4 separate regions of the Homo sapiens genome follow, and all the other regions are linked to region 3. Evidence: promoter capture Hi-C in 16 types of primary human blood cells and fetal thymus (Javierre and others, 2016). All regions are on one chromosome and are shown on one strand. Each heading gives the region's core, a stretch centred on a gene start or on the middle of the fragment in contact. The rest is flanking DNA. Distances are from core to core; before and after follow the strand shown.

What was found. The method cuts DNA at HindIII sites, captures the fragments that hold promoters and counts their contacts. A CHiCAGO score of 5 or more calls a contact.
Region 1: a contact is called between a fragment that was not itself captured here and the fragment with the promoter of PPP1CB in region 3, in 1 of 17 cell types (neutrophils). The highest score is 5.8, in neutrophils.
Region 2: the fragment with the promoter of GTF3C2 here is called in contact with the fragment with the promoter of PPP1CB in region 3 in 1 of 17 cell types (non-activated CD4 T cells); the score reaches 5.5 in non-activated CD4 T cells.
Region 4: a contact is called between a fragment that was not itself captured here and the fragment with the promoter of PPP1CB in region 3, in 1 of 17 cell types (activated CD4 T cells). The highest score is 5.3, in activated CD4 T cells.

The regions. Positions count from the first base shown.
Region 1 is chr2:27,633,131-27,636,687 of GRCh38, forward strand. GPN1 (GPN-loop GTPase 1) reads left to right here. Exons shown (of 14, transcript NM_007266.4): 6 at 1,716-1,794; 7 at 2,010-2,104. Among named protein-coding and RNA genes, the nearest start is that of GPN1, 5.9 kb to the left of the region's middle. The HindIII fragment of the contact is 9,452 bases long and covers 1-3,557 here.
Region 2 is chr2:27,355,438-27,358,942 of GRCh38, forward strand. It overlaps GTF3C2 (general transcription factor IIIC subunit 2), which reads right to left and starts at 1,327. Exons shown (of 19, transcript NM_001035521.3): 1 at 1,302-1,327. GTF3C2-AS2 (GTF3C2 antisense RNA 2) reads left to right here and starts at 1,328. Exons shown (of 4, transcript NR_183827.1): 1 at 1,328-1,419; 2 at 2,371-2,465; 3 at 3,448-3,505. RefSeq lists enhancers at 721-1,334, 848-1,127, 1,178-1,517, 1,335-1,948, 1,528-1,657. The HindIII fragment of the contact is 6,500 bases long and covers 1-3,505 here.
Region 3 is chr2:28,749,920-28,753,437 of GRCh38, forward strand. It overlaps PPP1CB (protein phosphatase 1 catalytic subunit beta), which reads left to right and starts at 1,911. Exons shown (of 8, transcript NM_002709.3): 1 at 1,911-2,257. The coding sequence starts at 2,206. It overlaps PPP1CB-DT (PPP1CB divergent transcript), which reads right to left and starts at 1,837. Exons shown (of 5, transcript XR_007086259.1): 1 at 1,724-1,837; 2 at 1-466. RefSeq lists enhancers at 1,324-1,533, 1,837-2,481 and silencers at 1,664-1,853, 2,344-2,563. The HindIII fragment of the contact is 5,134 bases long and covers 556-3,518 here.
Region 4 is chr2:27,724,661-27,727,775 of GRCh38, forward strand. The region is part of intron 2 of LOC105374378 (a long non-coding RNA gene); the gene reads left to right. Among named protein-coding and RNA genes, the nearest start is that of LINC01460, 10 kb to the left of the region's middle. The HindIII fragment of the contact is 5,291 bases long and covers 1-3,115 here.

The DNA.
Region 1 (3,557 bases), core at 13-2,512, 1.1 Mb before region 3:
AATTTATTGTTTTATAAAAATTCAAACCATGCATGATATTTATAAGATGAAACCATCACCCCGATTCCCACTAGAAGTAACATCATCATTCAGCGACTAGCATTCCACATTTCTATATACACAGATAGAAGGATGAATGGATAAAAGTGCTTTTACAAAAATGGGGTACTAGAGGTAGCTTTTGTTTTGTTTTGAGACAGGGTCTTGCTCTGTCGCCCAGGCTGGAGTACAGTGTAGTGATCTCAGCTCACTGTAACTTCCACCTCCCTGGCTCAGGTGATCCTCCCACCTCAGCCTCCCAAGTAGCTGGGACTACAGGTGTGAGCCACCACACCTGGCTAATTTTTGTATTTTTGTATTTTTGGGATGGAGTCTCGCTCTATTGCCTAGGCTGGAGTGCAGTGGTGTGATCTTGGCTCACTGCAATCTTTGCATCCCGGGTTCAAGCGATTCTCCTGCCTCAGCCTCCTGAGTAGCTGGGATTACAGGTGGCCTGCTACCATGCCTGACTAATTTTTGTATTTTTAGTAGAGATGGGGTTTCACCATGTTGGCCAGACTGGTCTCAAACTCCTAACCTCAAGTGATCTGCCCGGCTTAACCTCCCAAAGTGCTGGAACTATAGGTGTGAGCCACTGAGCCTGGCCTGGAGGTATTTTTTTTTTTTTAATGACAGCTTTATTAAGATATAATTCATATACCATAAAGTTCACTCGTTTAAAGTGTATGGTTGTTTTAGTCTGTCCACAGAGTCGTGTGTTGATAATTACTATCTTCAGAATATTTTTGTCATCCTGAAAAGAAACCCCATACTCATTACCAATCACTCCTTATTTTCTGTTCCCTTTAGCCCCTAGTGACTACCCCATTTTCCATTCCCATTGGCAATATGATTTCTCCACAACCAGTTCCTCCATAACCTTGCCAACTTTTGTTATTCTTCTTGTTTTTGATTATAGCCATTCTAGTGGATATAGAGTGGTATCTCATTGTGGTTTTTACTTTTATTTTCTTAATAACTAATGATATTGAACATCTTTTTAATGTACTTATTGGCCATTGGTATGTATATATTTAGAGAAATGTCTATTAGAATTCTTTGCCAATTAAAAAAATTCTGATATAATTCATAATTATATCAAATTAATTCACAAAAAAGTTGATATAGTTCATAAAAACAGCTTTATTGAGATAATTCACATACCATACAATTCACCCATTTAAGGTATACAATTCAGTGGCTTTTAGTATATTCACAGAATTGTACAACTATCACCACAGTCAATTTTAGAATATTTTCATCATCTCAAGAAGTAACCTGATATTCTTCAGCTAGCACTTTCCCATTCCTCCCATTCTTCTTCCTCTGTTCCACACTCACCCCCGCCCTAAGCAACCAGATGTTTCCCAAGAGATTTACATTCTGGTTTTGTGTCTTTCATTTTAAATGCATTGTGTTTCTATAAAAGTTTCCCCTGTGATCATTTGCAGCAACTCATGGTCTGCTGTTCCTGCCCATTGGCGTGAATATTGGTCATTGAACAAAGTCTAGGGGATCATCATGTGCAGTTTAGGGCCAGTAGGAGGAAGTTAGATTTGGCAGTGTGCAGAGGTTACTCCAGTCTTGGATAACCAGATGTTTATTGTCTTATATGATGGAATATCCTTCAGCATAACACAAATGTAACACTTCTTTAATGATCTTTCTTGACATAGATATGTGTTGATTGACACACCTGGACAGATTGAGGTATTCACCTGGTCAGCTTCTGGGACAATTATCACTGAAGCCCTTGTGAGTATTCTAGGACTTGCTACTGAGAGTAGCTAGAGGGGCTAGACTGGATGAGCATTTATTTTTAATTGCCTTGGACTTTATATGGGAGGAAGTTGTAGAAGCTCTGCACACCCTGCCTAAAGTGGTTTTCCCTTGTTAAGGATGGTGGAAAAAGAGTTTGAGGACAGATCGTGAGCCCTCTGACCAAGGCTTTGATTTTTTTGTGGCTTTAGGCATCCTCATTTCCAACAGTTGTCATCTATGTAATGGACACATCGAGAAGTACCAACCCAGTGACCTTCATGTCCAACATGCTCTATGCCTGCAGGTAATTGATTGTTGGTGGGGAAAGTGTTCCATCAAGGTATAAGGCCTTTTTCTCTTCTTCTTCCTCTTTTTTTTTTTTTTTTGAATCTGGTTGCTTACCCCTGGATTTGTGCTCATTCAGATTTGCTGTTCAGTTGAGTGGCTGTGAGCTGGGGAAGGTCAGAGGAGAAAAGAGGCACATGTGCTGTTGGCATTCTCTCTCAATACCCTCTGATCTTCCTCCCTTGTTGTTACAAAAAGGTGATGTATGAATATGAACTGTCTGATAGTTGTTCCCAGTTGGATAAAATCCAAGTTTAAAGATAAAGTCCTCTGGGCTGGGTCTGTCATCCCTACACTTGGGAGGCCAAGGTGGGAGGATCGTTTGAGCTTGGGAGTTTGAAACCAGGCTGGGGAACATAGCAAGACTCTGTCTCTACAAAAAATGTTTTAAAATTAGCCAGCGTGGTGGCACGCCCTTGTAGTCCCAGCTACTTGGGAGGCTGACGTGGGAGGATTGCTTGAGCTCAGGTGGTTGAGGCTGTAGTGAGCCATGATTGTGCCACTGCACTCCGGCTTGGGGCAACAAGAGCCTGGGGCAACGAGAGAGAGAGAGAAGAATAGAGTCCTCTGGCCTAAATGATGCTGGTAGAGTGAAATTGTAACATGAGGAGATACCATGAATAAGAAGATTTATCCATAATTGTAAAATGCACAGGTGGCCAGGCATGGTGGCTCATGCCTATAATCCCAGCACTTGGGGAGGCTGTGGTGGGAGGATCGCCTGAGCCCAGGAGTTTGAGACCAGCCTGGGCACCATGGTGAAACCCCATCTCTACAAAATATACAAAAAATTAGCCAGGGATGGTGGTGTGTGCCTGTAATCCCCGCTACCTGGGAGGCAGAGGTGGAAGGATTGCTTGAGCCTGGGAGGCCAAGGTTGGAGTGAGCTGTGATGATGTCACTGTACTCCAGGCTGGGCAACAGAGTGAGACCCTGTCTCAAAAAAATAAAATGCACTGGTTTGCCCCAAATGTGGCACCATTAGCAGAGGAAGGGCATGCCTCACTAGATTAGTGCATTAAGACTGAGGAGCAAGGCTGACAGTTATTAAAGCTGAGAGAATTTAATTTTGAGGGTACACAAATGCCATCACCAACATTTGTCTTTTCTGATATGACAAGGGATGTCCCTTTTTGGTGGATGCAAGAAATTGTGATCCAAATAGAAATCTGAAGATTGACAGCATTATTTCATTTTCATATTAATTATTTATTTATTTATTTATTTATATTTTTTCGAGACGGAGTCTTGCTCTGTCACCCAGGCTGGAGTACAGTGGCACAATCTCACCGTACTGCAATTTCCGCCTACTGGGTTCAGGTGATTCTCCTGCCTCAGCTTCCTGAGTAGTCACCACACTTGGCTAATTTTGTATTTTTAGTAGAGTCGGGGTTTCACCTTGTTGGCCAGGC
Region 2 (3,505 bases), core at 77-2,576, 1.4 Mb before region 3:
TGAACCCGGGAGGCGGAGGTTGCAGTGAGCCGAGATCACGCCACTGCACTCCAGCCTGGGCAACAAGAACAAAACTCCGTATCAAAAAAAAAAAAAATACACTTCTCATGGAAGGCAGCAGCAGGATGTAATGGTACAAATTCTGGATACACAGTAAAGGAATAGATGATCAGTAAATTCGTACTGAGTTTCTAAAACCTTCCATTGCACCCCAATCTGTCTGGTTCCCATGCTGCTCCAGGATGCCAGCTTGACCTCCCCAGCCAAGAAAAAATAATGACACAACACTGCACCTTAAGTATGAAATTACTTTGAATACACTGCTTAGCTTAATATATTGTTTCCTAAAGTGTTCCTAGGGTACAACTGGCGGTATGCAAGATGATTTTAATGGTACGAAAACGAACATTTTAATGACTAGTGCTTTTATTTCAACTTACATAAACAATTATAAGTAGCCCATGAAACCCACGGTTTCATTTATATTGCTTAGGTCGAGACTAATGCATTTAAACTTTTTAAGTAAGTCAATTTAAAGAGAACTATTCAGAAAACAATAGTACAATTGATAAGAGATTGCAAAAATAGTGATGGCACGGGATTGACTTAAAATTGTATATGCCTCTGGAACAAAGAGGTTTGTCCATACCCTATACATCCCTCCAACAAAGTGAGTTGCCTCCGACGGAGTTGAAGTCGCCACCTCTGACTTCCCCAACAGGCAGCCAACTTGCCACGGGACAAAAGGACTAGACAGGGAAACACAACTGGCCCTTGGTTACGCCAATGGCGTTGCAGCGCGCGGGGCACAACCCTCGGGGTTAAAGAGCCTCCTCGAGGAAGAGGCTGGGACACAGCTGAAAGAGATTGACCCACAACCACTCTAGGGGCCATCACCTGCCCTTCTTCAGTCCTGGGCGTGAAGGTAGATTTCTCCCCTAGCCTGTGCGGGAGAGGAGCCCTGGTTTTTCTAACAAGGACTACTGTAGGTTCGCCGAGTTCGAGGGACGCTACGTATGCAGCGCCTACGCCCGGACACAGGCTTCCGCGTTACCGACACCGCGTGGGGGAGGAGGGCAAGACCCGAGGCTTGCAGAGATGGGGGGTGCACGGTGGCCACAGTAGGGAAGGTGCGGAGCATGATGGTGCTCTGTAGGAGCGCAGACGCTGAAAGGCGCGCTGCTGTGGCTGGGAGAAGAGCGGAGCCAGGAGTTTGTTCCCAATATCTTAGTGCTATGGCAAAAGAAGGGGGAGGAGTAATTGTGGGGCCCCCCACACACCCGCTGCGGCGATACACTCACCCTCGCCAAAGTCCTTCCGGAAGTCTAAGTTCGAAGATGGCGCCGCCTGTCTGGTCGCGGTCTTATGACGAAATCTTGTTAGCTGCTCTTCACTGACGCCCCCACCCCAGTGCACAAGGTAAACACGTGTGCTTGGTCCGGAGTCGGTGCCGGGCTAGTTTTCTCTTAGACTCTGTATTCCATAATGCAGCGCGGCCAGAGTCACCGAGCCCTCCGAAGCCAGCCGAGTTCCAGGGCGTCTTCAGCGGCGCCAGGGACGCTGCAGGGCCTCATGGGAGTTGCAGTGTCAAAAAGGGGAGATCGACGCCTGCGCGGCCAACGGGATCCCACGCGGCCTCGACGGGAGCCGGGAGTAGGCGGACTCCCAGGCCGGGCTCGCGCTCTGGATCCCTGAATCCGGCCTTTCCGGCCGGACTGCCGCGCCTGTGGCCGGAAGAGCCAGCTAGACCAGAGAGTCTGTACCTGCAACCCTGGCGGCGTCCGAGCCCAAGGCGGAGTCTGGGAGACAAAGAAGTCCTCGCCGCCGGCCGCTGGAGGATTCTGCCAGTAGTGAAGTCAGGGATGGGCCCGAGAGAGCTTGGAAAGAGGACAAGGAAGGGAAGGAGTAGGAGTAGAAAAGCATGACTTTGGCTGGGTATGGTAGCTCCTGTCTGTAATCCCAGCACTTTGGGAGGCCAAGGCGGGGGAGGATCACTTGAGCCCAGGAATTCGATACCAGCCTGGGCAACATAGTGAGACCCCGTTTTTATTTTTATTTTTATTTTTTCCTGAGATGGAGTCTTGCTCTGTCCCCAGGCTGGAGTGCAGTGGCGCGATCTCGGCTCACTGCAAACTCCGCCTCCCGGGTTCAAGCAATTGTCCTGCCTCAGCCTCCCGAGTAGCTGAGATTACAGGCGCCCGCCACCAAGCCCGGATAATTTTTGTCTTTTTAGTAGAGAAGGGGTTTCACTATGTTGGCCAGGCTGGTCTCGAACTCCTGACCTTGTGATACGCCTGCCTCAGCCTCCCAAAGTGCTGGGATTACAGGCATGAGCCACCGCGCCCGGCCTAATTTTTTAATTTTTTCTAGAGATGGGGTCTCGTTATGTTGACCAGGCTGGTCTTGAACACCTGACCTGAAGTGATCCTCTTGCCTCAGCCTCCCATAGTGCTGCGATCACAGGTGTAAGTCACTGAGTTTGGCCATTATTCCATTTCTGTACACAAAAACCTTTCTCATTCTGTGCTATAACTAGTTAGCATTTAATTGGGTGGATGTGGTATAACTAGTGCCTTGTTGATATTGATGCATATTTACATGGTTTTGCTGTTATAAACAATGGTCCCTTGCTATTATAAATCACACTGCTATAAGTAACCTTGCATCTAAATTACTTCAAATGTGTAACTATATGGGTAGGATAATTTCTAGAAGTGGAATTGTGAACCAAAGTTTTAGGTGCATTTGTAATTTTGATTTATAACCAATCTTTTCACTGATCTACTTCTCTGCCTCTAATTTCTACTAGGTGTTTGTTTGTTTGTTTGTTTGTTTTGAGACAGGGTCTTGCTCTGTCACCCAGGCTGGAGGACAGTGGTGCAATCACGGCTCACTGCAGCCTCAACCTGCCACCTCAGCCTCCTGAATAGTTGGGGTGTGTGGCAGGTGTATACCACCACTTCCAGGTTTTTTTGTTGTTGTTGTTTAATAGAGATGAGGTCTTGCTATATTGCCCAGGCAGGTCTCACACTACTGAGCGCAAGCGATCCTCCTGCCTATGCCTCCCAAAGTGCTGGGATTACAGGTGTGAGTTGCCATGCCTGGCCCGGTTATCTTTCTAAAGCATAAAGCAACCCTGTTGATCCTCTGCTTAATTTTGATGATTAAGTAGTATGTTCAAAATATAGAAATCCATGTATTGATAATGATCTTTTAAAAAAAGTAAAAGCCAAAATATCAGCTACTCATCCTACACCATTGAAAGTAGTGACCATTAAACTGCTCTACCTCTACCTCCACCTCTCTACCTCTCTACCTCTCTACCTCTACCTCTACCCACGGTCTCCCTCTCTTTCCATGGTCTCCCTCTCATGTGGAGCCGAAGCTGGACTGTACTGCTGCCATCTCGGCTCACTGCAACCTCCCTGCCTGATTCTCCTGCCTCAGCCTGCCGAGTGCCTGCGATTGCAGGCACGCGCTGCCACGCCTGACTGGTTTTGGTGGA
Region 3 (3,518 bases), core at 661-3,160:
AAAACACCTACTCCGATTGCAACTGATCTTTTTCTTGGTTGCTAGAAAACTGAGAGTCATATGTGTGGCCTACCTCCAGCAAACCAATAGGACCTTACACCATGCATTTTGCATACAAAACTGCTGGCTTAATCTTATCTTTCACACTCACGGTTTTCTTTTGTCCTATTTTTCTCTGTACTTATTTTTAATTTACCCTGATGTACACATTTATGTAAACTACGTTAAATCCTTTCCTCTGGAATAAAGTAGGGTGTAAATAAATTTAACAAAACAACAAAGAGTGATGATGAGCCAGGTCTTCACTCCTGAAGGCCTCAAAACGAACTGGCAGTGATCTGTGAAAACTACAGAGAACTGCCCGTTCATCTCCACAGATTACTGAAGTCTGTGAAAACTACTCCAGCCAGGACCACCATTATAGCCTGCTGCCTGTTGTGTTCACAATCGATGCACAAACTCAACCCTGAAATGGAGAGAAAAATAGGGGAAAAAAGACATTAGGAAATCCTAGCTCTATGTCATCTGGACATTAGAAAGCACTTGGTTGGACAAAGCTTTTTCTCCCCCACAGCACATGCCTGTTTCAGCATCTCAGCCCACATTCACGGAGAGGGAGAATATAGCAATTGTTAAGAATGCAGACTCTAGCACTGCATGCTCTGCTGTTTATTTGTGTTATTTGGGCTAGGTTTTTTAACCGTCTGTGCCTCGGTGAATCCCATCTACAAAGTAGAGATAATAATAGTACCTACCTCACAGGGCAGTTGTAAGGATTAAATGAGGTAACCCGGGTGTAACATTTAAAACAGTGGCAGAGTACATACAGGGATCTGAACAAATGTTAGCTACTATTAGTGATATGTGAGTGGGGGAAGCACACTGCCTTGGACTTGAGGCAATATCAAGTCTGAGTTTCTGGAAAAACACTTGTGGAATAAGTAAGGGCTGGCCACCTCCTAAAACCGGACAAAAGATCTGGCTTGCCTAGATCCTTAGCGTGACTGCTTCTCCTCCTGCCTTTCTAGAGGCAGTATTACGTGATGGAAATACTTGGTGGGTGCTGTGGGCACAAAGATAAGTTAATGTGTTTTTATTCCCTAGGAGCTGAGTCGAGAGTAGGAGAAAAATGCATAAATAATTACCAGGTAGGATGATTAAGCAATATACTGGAGGCAGCAACAGAAACACACCGTGGAAAAAAAATACCCACGGCGTGGATGAAGATATGAGATGTGTGAAAGCGCTAGACACAGGCAGCCACCTGCACCCATGTAAAATTGGATTATTGCTGACTCCTACAAGGCCCACTTTAACGCTTCTTTCAACCAGAATCCCTGCAGAACTAATTTTGTAGAACCGCCGGGGATAAAGACCTTTATTTGCAATGTCGAACTCCAGCAGAGTAACCCCTTTTGCTTTCCACACGCGCAAACCCGGGTCCCAAACGCTGCAGTTCGCGTTTCCCGGCTAACGGAAGAAACACGAGGAACTGTTTGCAGATCTAGGGGATGAAGCCAAAAAACGGAAAGCGAGGCCGAAAGGGCGCAACCACCACGTCTGGAGGAGGCCAGTGAAGTAGAGAAAGGGGAAGGTCAGCCCTGCCCCAGCGCGCTCTGCGTAACCGGGACTTCCTCCGCGCGGCAAAGCCGGGGAACCTCCCTGGCGCCTGCGCCACCGTGGCGAGACTCGGCGCCGTGGACGTGGAGAGAGGGCGACGCACCTGCGCGAAGACGGCAGCGGGAGAAGCCGCTCCAGTGCGGTTGCGCGGCGGCCCAGGCGTCGAGGGGAGCCTCGGCGGGGAGCGCACCGCGCGCCTGCGCGGAGAGCTGCGTGACGCGGCGGCGCGCAAGGGACGTGCGGAGTGAGTGGCGCTGCGGGTGGGGCCGTCGGCGGCGCTGGTGAGCTTTGCGGAGCTGGGCGGTGCCGAGGAGGAGGAGGTGGCGGCCTGGGTCTGACGCGGCCCTGTTCGAGGGGGCCTCTCTTGTTTATTTATTTATTTTCCGTGGGTGCCTCCGAGTGTGCGCGCGCTCTCGCTACCCGGCGGGGAGGGGGTGGGGGGAGGGCCCGGGAAAAGGGGGAGTTGGAGCCGGGGTCGAAACGCCGCGTGACTTGTAGGTGAGAGAACGCCGAGCCGTCGCCGCAGCCTCCGCCGCCGAGAAGCCCTTGTTCCCGCTGCTGGGAAGGAGAGTCTGTGCCGACAAGATGGCGGACGGGGAGCTGAACGTGGACAGCCTCATCACCCGGCTGCTGGAGGGTGAGTGCGCGCCTGGCCGCGGGACAGAGGGAGGTCGGGCACCGCCGCCGACCCCTGCGTCCCCGTCTGCCGCCGGAACGCGAGGGGACCCCTTTCCCGCCCCGAGACGAGTCTCTGGGAGCGCGGCGCGGCGGACGAACCGAGGAGGGGGCGAGGAGGCTCTGGGCGCGGGGGAGCGGCCTCTGGGAGCGCGGTCAGGGGAGATCGGGGGAGAGGGGGCCGTTCCCGCGGACCCTCGGGGGCCAGGCCCGCCGGCCGAAGGCTGTGCGGAGCGGGTCTGCGGGAGACAGCCTTTCGGAAAGGCCGCCGGGCTCCGCGCGCCGTGGTGCTCGCCTCCGGTGACCCGAGGATGGGGAGAGGATGCCTGCCACTGGGCTTTGTGCGTCCGTGGAATCACTGTTCTTCTCTGTTCTCTTTGTGCATTGCCCTTGGCTGCCTCCGATTGTCGTTCCGGGAGTGAATTTTACGTATATATATATAAACCTGTCCTTAACAGGACTGCTTCGTCTGCTCTGCATTTTTACACAATGCTATATAGAATGGATTCTTCTTAAAGAGAGGATAAAATTAGCGGGAATTAATCTACCGTTTGTTACTTGGCCTAAAAAAATTGTAAGACAAGATATTTGATCAGGTTGAAGATGCACCTAAGAAATGTGATGTATGTAGATGGGTTTGCTGAAGGGATTGGCTTTTGCATTTGATTTGAGCAGAGCTTAATTTCTGCACAAACTTAGTGAAAATCTATTTTTAAAGCCTGTCTTGTATTCGAAAGGTATTTGTAGGTCTACGCAGCATTTGAACTTTCCGGGCTCAAGTGTTCTTATTGAATAGTTTTATGTTGGTGGGAAGGCAAGGGGGGAAAACGAAGAGGTGGACTAGCCGGGAGTTAAATGTATTGATTCATTGCAGGATATTATTCAAAGTTAAATGCAGTCTTCTGCCAAACAGTCCCTCTACCCTAAAGTTTTCGTCATCAATAATTGTTTTGTGAGTGTGTAGAAAAGCCTTTAATCCTTTTTAAACAATTTAGAGGCCTCTTTGTTAGCCGCCGTCCAGCGATTGCATATGTACTGTTTGCTTTCAAATTACCTTAAGATAATTGCTAGAGTGAAGCAGTATGTACTTATATTTGGAAAATCATCAAAGAATATTGTAATGGGGGAGGGGTAATTCCTTTTTCTCAAAGTATGTGTCGGTATCTCAAACCCAAGTTCTGTGAGTACCTGTTCTGTAACTAAATACTGTGTATTTGCTCCAG
Region 4 (3,115 bases), core at 224-2,723, 1.0 Mb before region 3:
TCTCACTCTTTTATTAATAAAATAAAACAATAAACACATACTACCATCAAAAGAACACTCACAGCCTGTGTTTATGTGTTTATGTTGTGTCTGTGTCTAAGAAGCTGCAACTGCTATGTCAATTTTTAACAAAATGAGTTTTCACTCAGTGCTGGGGGGTATGATAATTCAAAACAAAAAGGGAGGGCAGATTCTTCCACTGTGTCTTTTAGTTTTTGCTTTTTTACTCTTTTCCTTTTTCTTTCTTTTTTTTTTTTCTGTTAAAACAGAGACATTGGCCTAAGGCCTAGGCACAGAAACTAAGAGTGCCTGTGTTCACTCGGGAAAGATTCCACAGGGGAATCAGGCCCATGCCCCTCCCGTCTCCTGTTCCCAGGGGCTTTGTTTCCTGCTCTCCTCTGCCCTTTCTGAAAAGGACCCCACAGGTGATCTGAACCCCCTGAATATGGTGCCTGGGGAGAGGAATGTGGGCATGAGGAAAGTAAGGAATGAGGAGGAGAGGAGAAATAGAACAATAAGAGAGAATAATCAGCATAAACTTTGTGATCTCAGGGCCAGGGATGAGAGAAACAATGGTCATTTATACATTTTAATCATGAGTTCAGTCTTGTGGCTGAAAGTAACAGAAACAAAATTCTAATTAGCTTGAGCCCCAAAGATGAAGGTGTTGGCTTACATAAACTACTGTGGAGACAGGGATAAAACAAATGGCTTCAAGGAGTGGACATCCTTGGGACGTCCCCTCCCCTCAGGATGTTGATTTATCCACCTGCTCTCAAGGCTGTGAGGCTCTGTGTGCCCATCCTCACAGCCCCATGGCCAGAGAGGAAAGCACTCTTTCACACCAGCTCCGGCTAGAGGACAGCAAACAGCAGCATACCAGTGTGCAGTCGTCACAGTTCAAAAATGTTACACTTTGTTCTTTTCCAGTACTGATGAAGGAATGGAAAATGGAGACCCTAATGCTGTGATACACTATTGGAGGGAACATAAATTGTCCCAGTCCCTTTGGAGGGAAATTTGGCAGTATCTATTATAATTTGAAATGTGGTTACCATGGATCTCATGATGCCATGTCTCAAAATCCAGACCAGTAACTCTCATGTATGTGCACAAGGAAACACAGGCCAGGGTGTTATGTGAAGAATTATTTGTAATGCAAAATTAGGAATAACATAAGTGTCCATCTTTAAACCATGATATATTTTATACTCTGAAAACCTGGAAACTATTAAAAAGAATGAAGTATGTACTGACATAAACCCCTAAGACATCTTGGTAAATGAAAAATGTAATTTGCAGTATATAGATACAATATGGTATCACTCAAGCATAAACCAAAACCAAAACAAAACCTTGAAATAATAATATATATTTATATATGTTTATAACATATTTCTAAATATATGAAAATGCATAGAAAAGGTCTAGATTCACTAAATTACCTTGGTTATCTCTGGTGAAGCTAAGATTAGGTGTTGAGATTGAAGGAGACTGTCAGGTTTAAACTTTTTCAGTGATAACGTATTCAGGTATAATTTATGTATTTAAAATTAATTTTAAAACTTTTAAAGGAAAAAGCTATGGAAGGAAAGGCATTCTGATTTGTTCAACCCAGACCATATGACTCTTCCTAGACCAATCACTGTGGCCAAGGGGCTCCTAGGGTTCAGTGACTGGCCCAACCTGGGTTTCACACTCATTCCTGTGAACACTGGAGCAATACACAATAATTGGCACAATAATTGGCAGCTCCTTCCATAATTACAGCTGAATTGGTGAAGGAGGATTTCCCCCAAAGAAGGGAGGTGCTGTTCTGGGCAGACAAAACAATAAGTCTTCTCGATAGTGGGCTTTATCATCTTCATGGGTTTAAGTATGTGTCATCCAAGGCTGAAATACTTCGTTCAATACAGTTCTGTTACAATATATAGGATAAAAATTTGTTCTGCGCCAGGTGCGATGGCTCATGCTTGCAATCCCAGCAATTTGGGAGGCTGAGGTGGGTGGATCATTTAAGGCCAGGAGTTTGAGACCAGCCTAGCCAACATGGCGAACCCCATCTCTACTAAAAAATACAAAAAAATTAGCTGTGTGTGGTGGCGCATGGCTATAATCCCAGCTACTTGGGTGGCTGAGGCACGAAAATCACTTGAACCTGGGAAGTAGAGGTTGCAGTGAGCTGAGATTGCACCACTGTACTCCAGCCTAGGTGACAGAGTGAGACTCTACCTCAAAGAAAAAAAAAAAAAGAATTTGTTCTGCTCATTGCTATATCCCTAGAACCCAGGAAAGTTCTGGGTATATAGTAGATGCTCAGTGTAATAGACACTAGTCAAATGGCAACAGCACTACTATAGCCTATGATTTTTTTGTTTTTGTTTTTGTTTTTGTTTTTTGAGATGGAGTCTCGCTCTGTTGCCCAGGCTGGAGTGCGATGGCACAATCTCAGCTCACTGCCACCTCAGCTTCCTGGGTTCAAGTGATTCTCCTGCCTCAGCCTCCCGAGTAGCTGGGATTACAGGCATGCCCCACCATGCCTGGCTAATTTTTGTATTTTTAGTAGAGACAAGGTTTCGCCATGTTGGCCAGGCTGGTCTGGAACTCCTGACCTCAGGTGATCTGCCTGCCTCTGCCTCCCAAAGTGCTAGGACTACAGGCGTGAGCCACCGCACCCGGCTGCCTATGGAAATGCCTTATTCTGGAAACTATGACTATGAAGAGAACTATGACTCCTCCCTCAATGCTCTCAGCAGAGGCAGAGGGGAGAAAGGAAGAGGAAGTCAGACTGACAGCTCCGTTTTCCTCCCAAGGCCAATGTTCAAGTCAGATCAGGGAGTGACCATGACGCACGCCTGGGACAGCTTGACAATGATCTGGCCATGGCATGGGGTTGGGCAGGAGGAGTTGGCCCAGTTACTTTTGATTAAGTGGGGCTTCCTTCTGTGTGTTACAGCCTCATAGGTCGCTGTGGGGATGGGGCCACGACGGAAGAGAAGGTGGTAAAAAGGGCGAGTTGCCTAAGGTGAGTGACCCTTGGGTGGGTCTCCTAACTCATCTGAATCCTTTCCTCTCTGCAAAGTGAGGATATTATTATTATTATTATCATTATTAT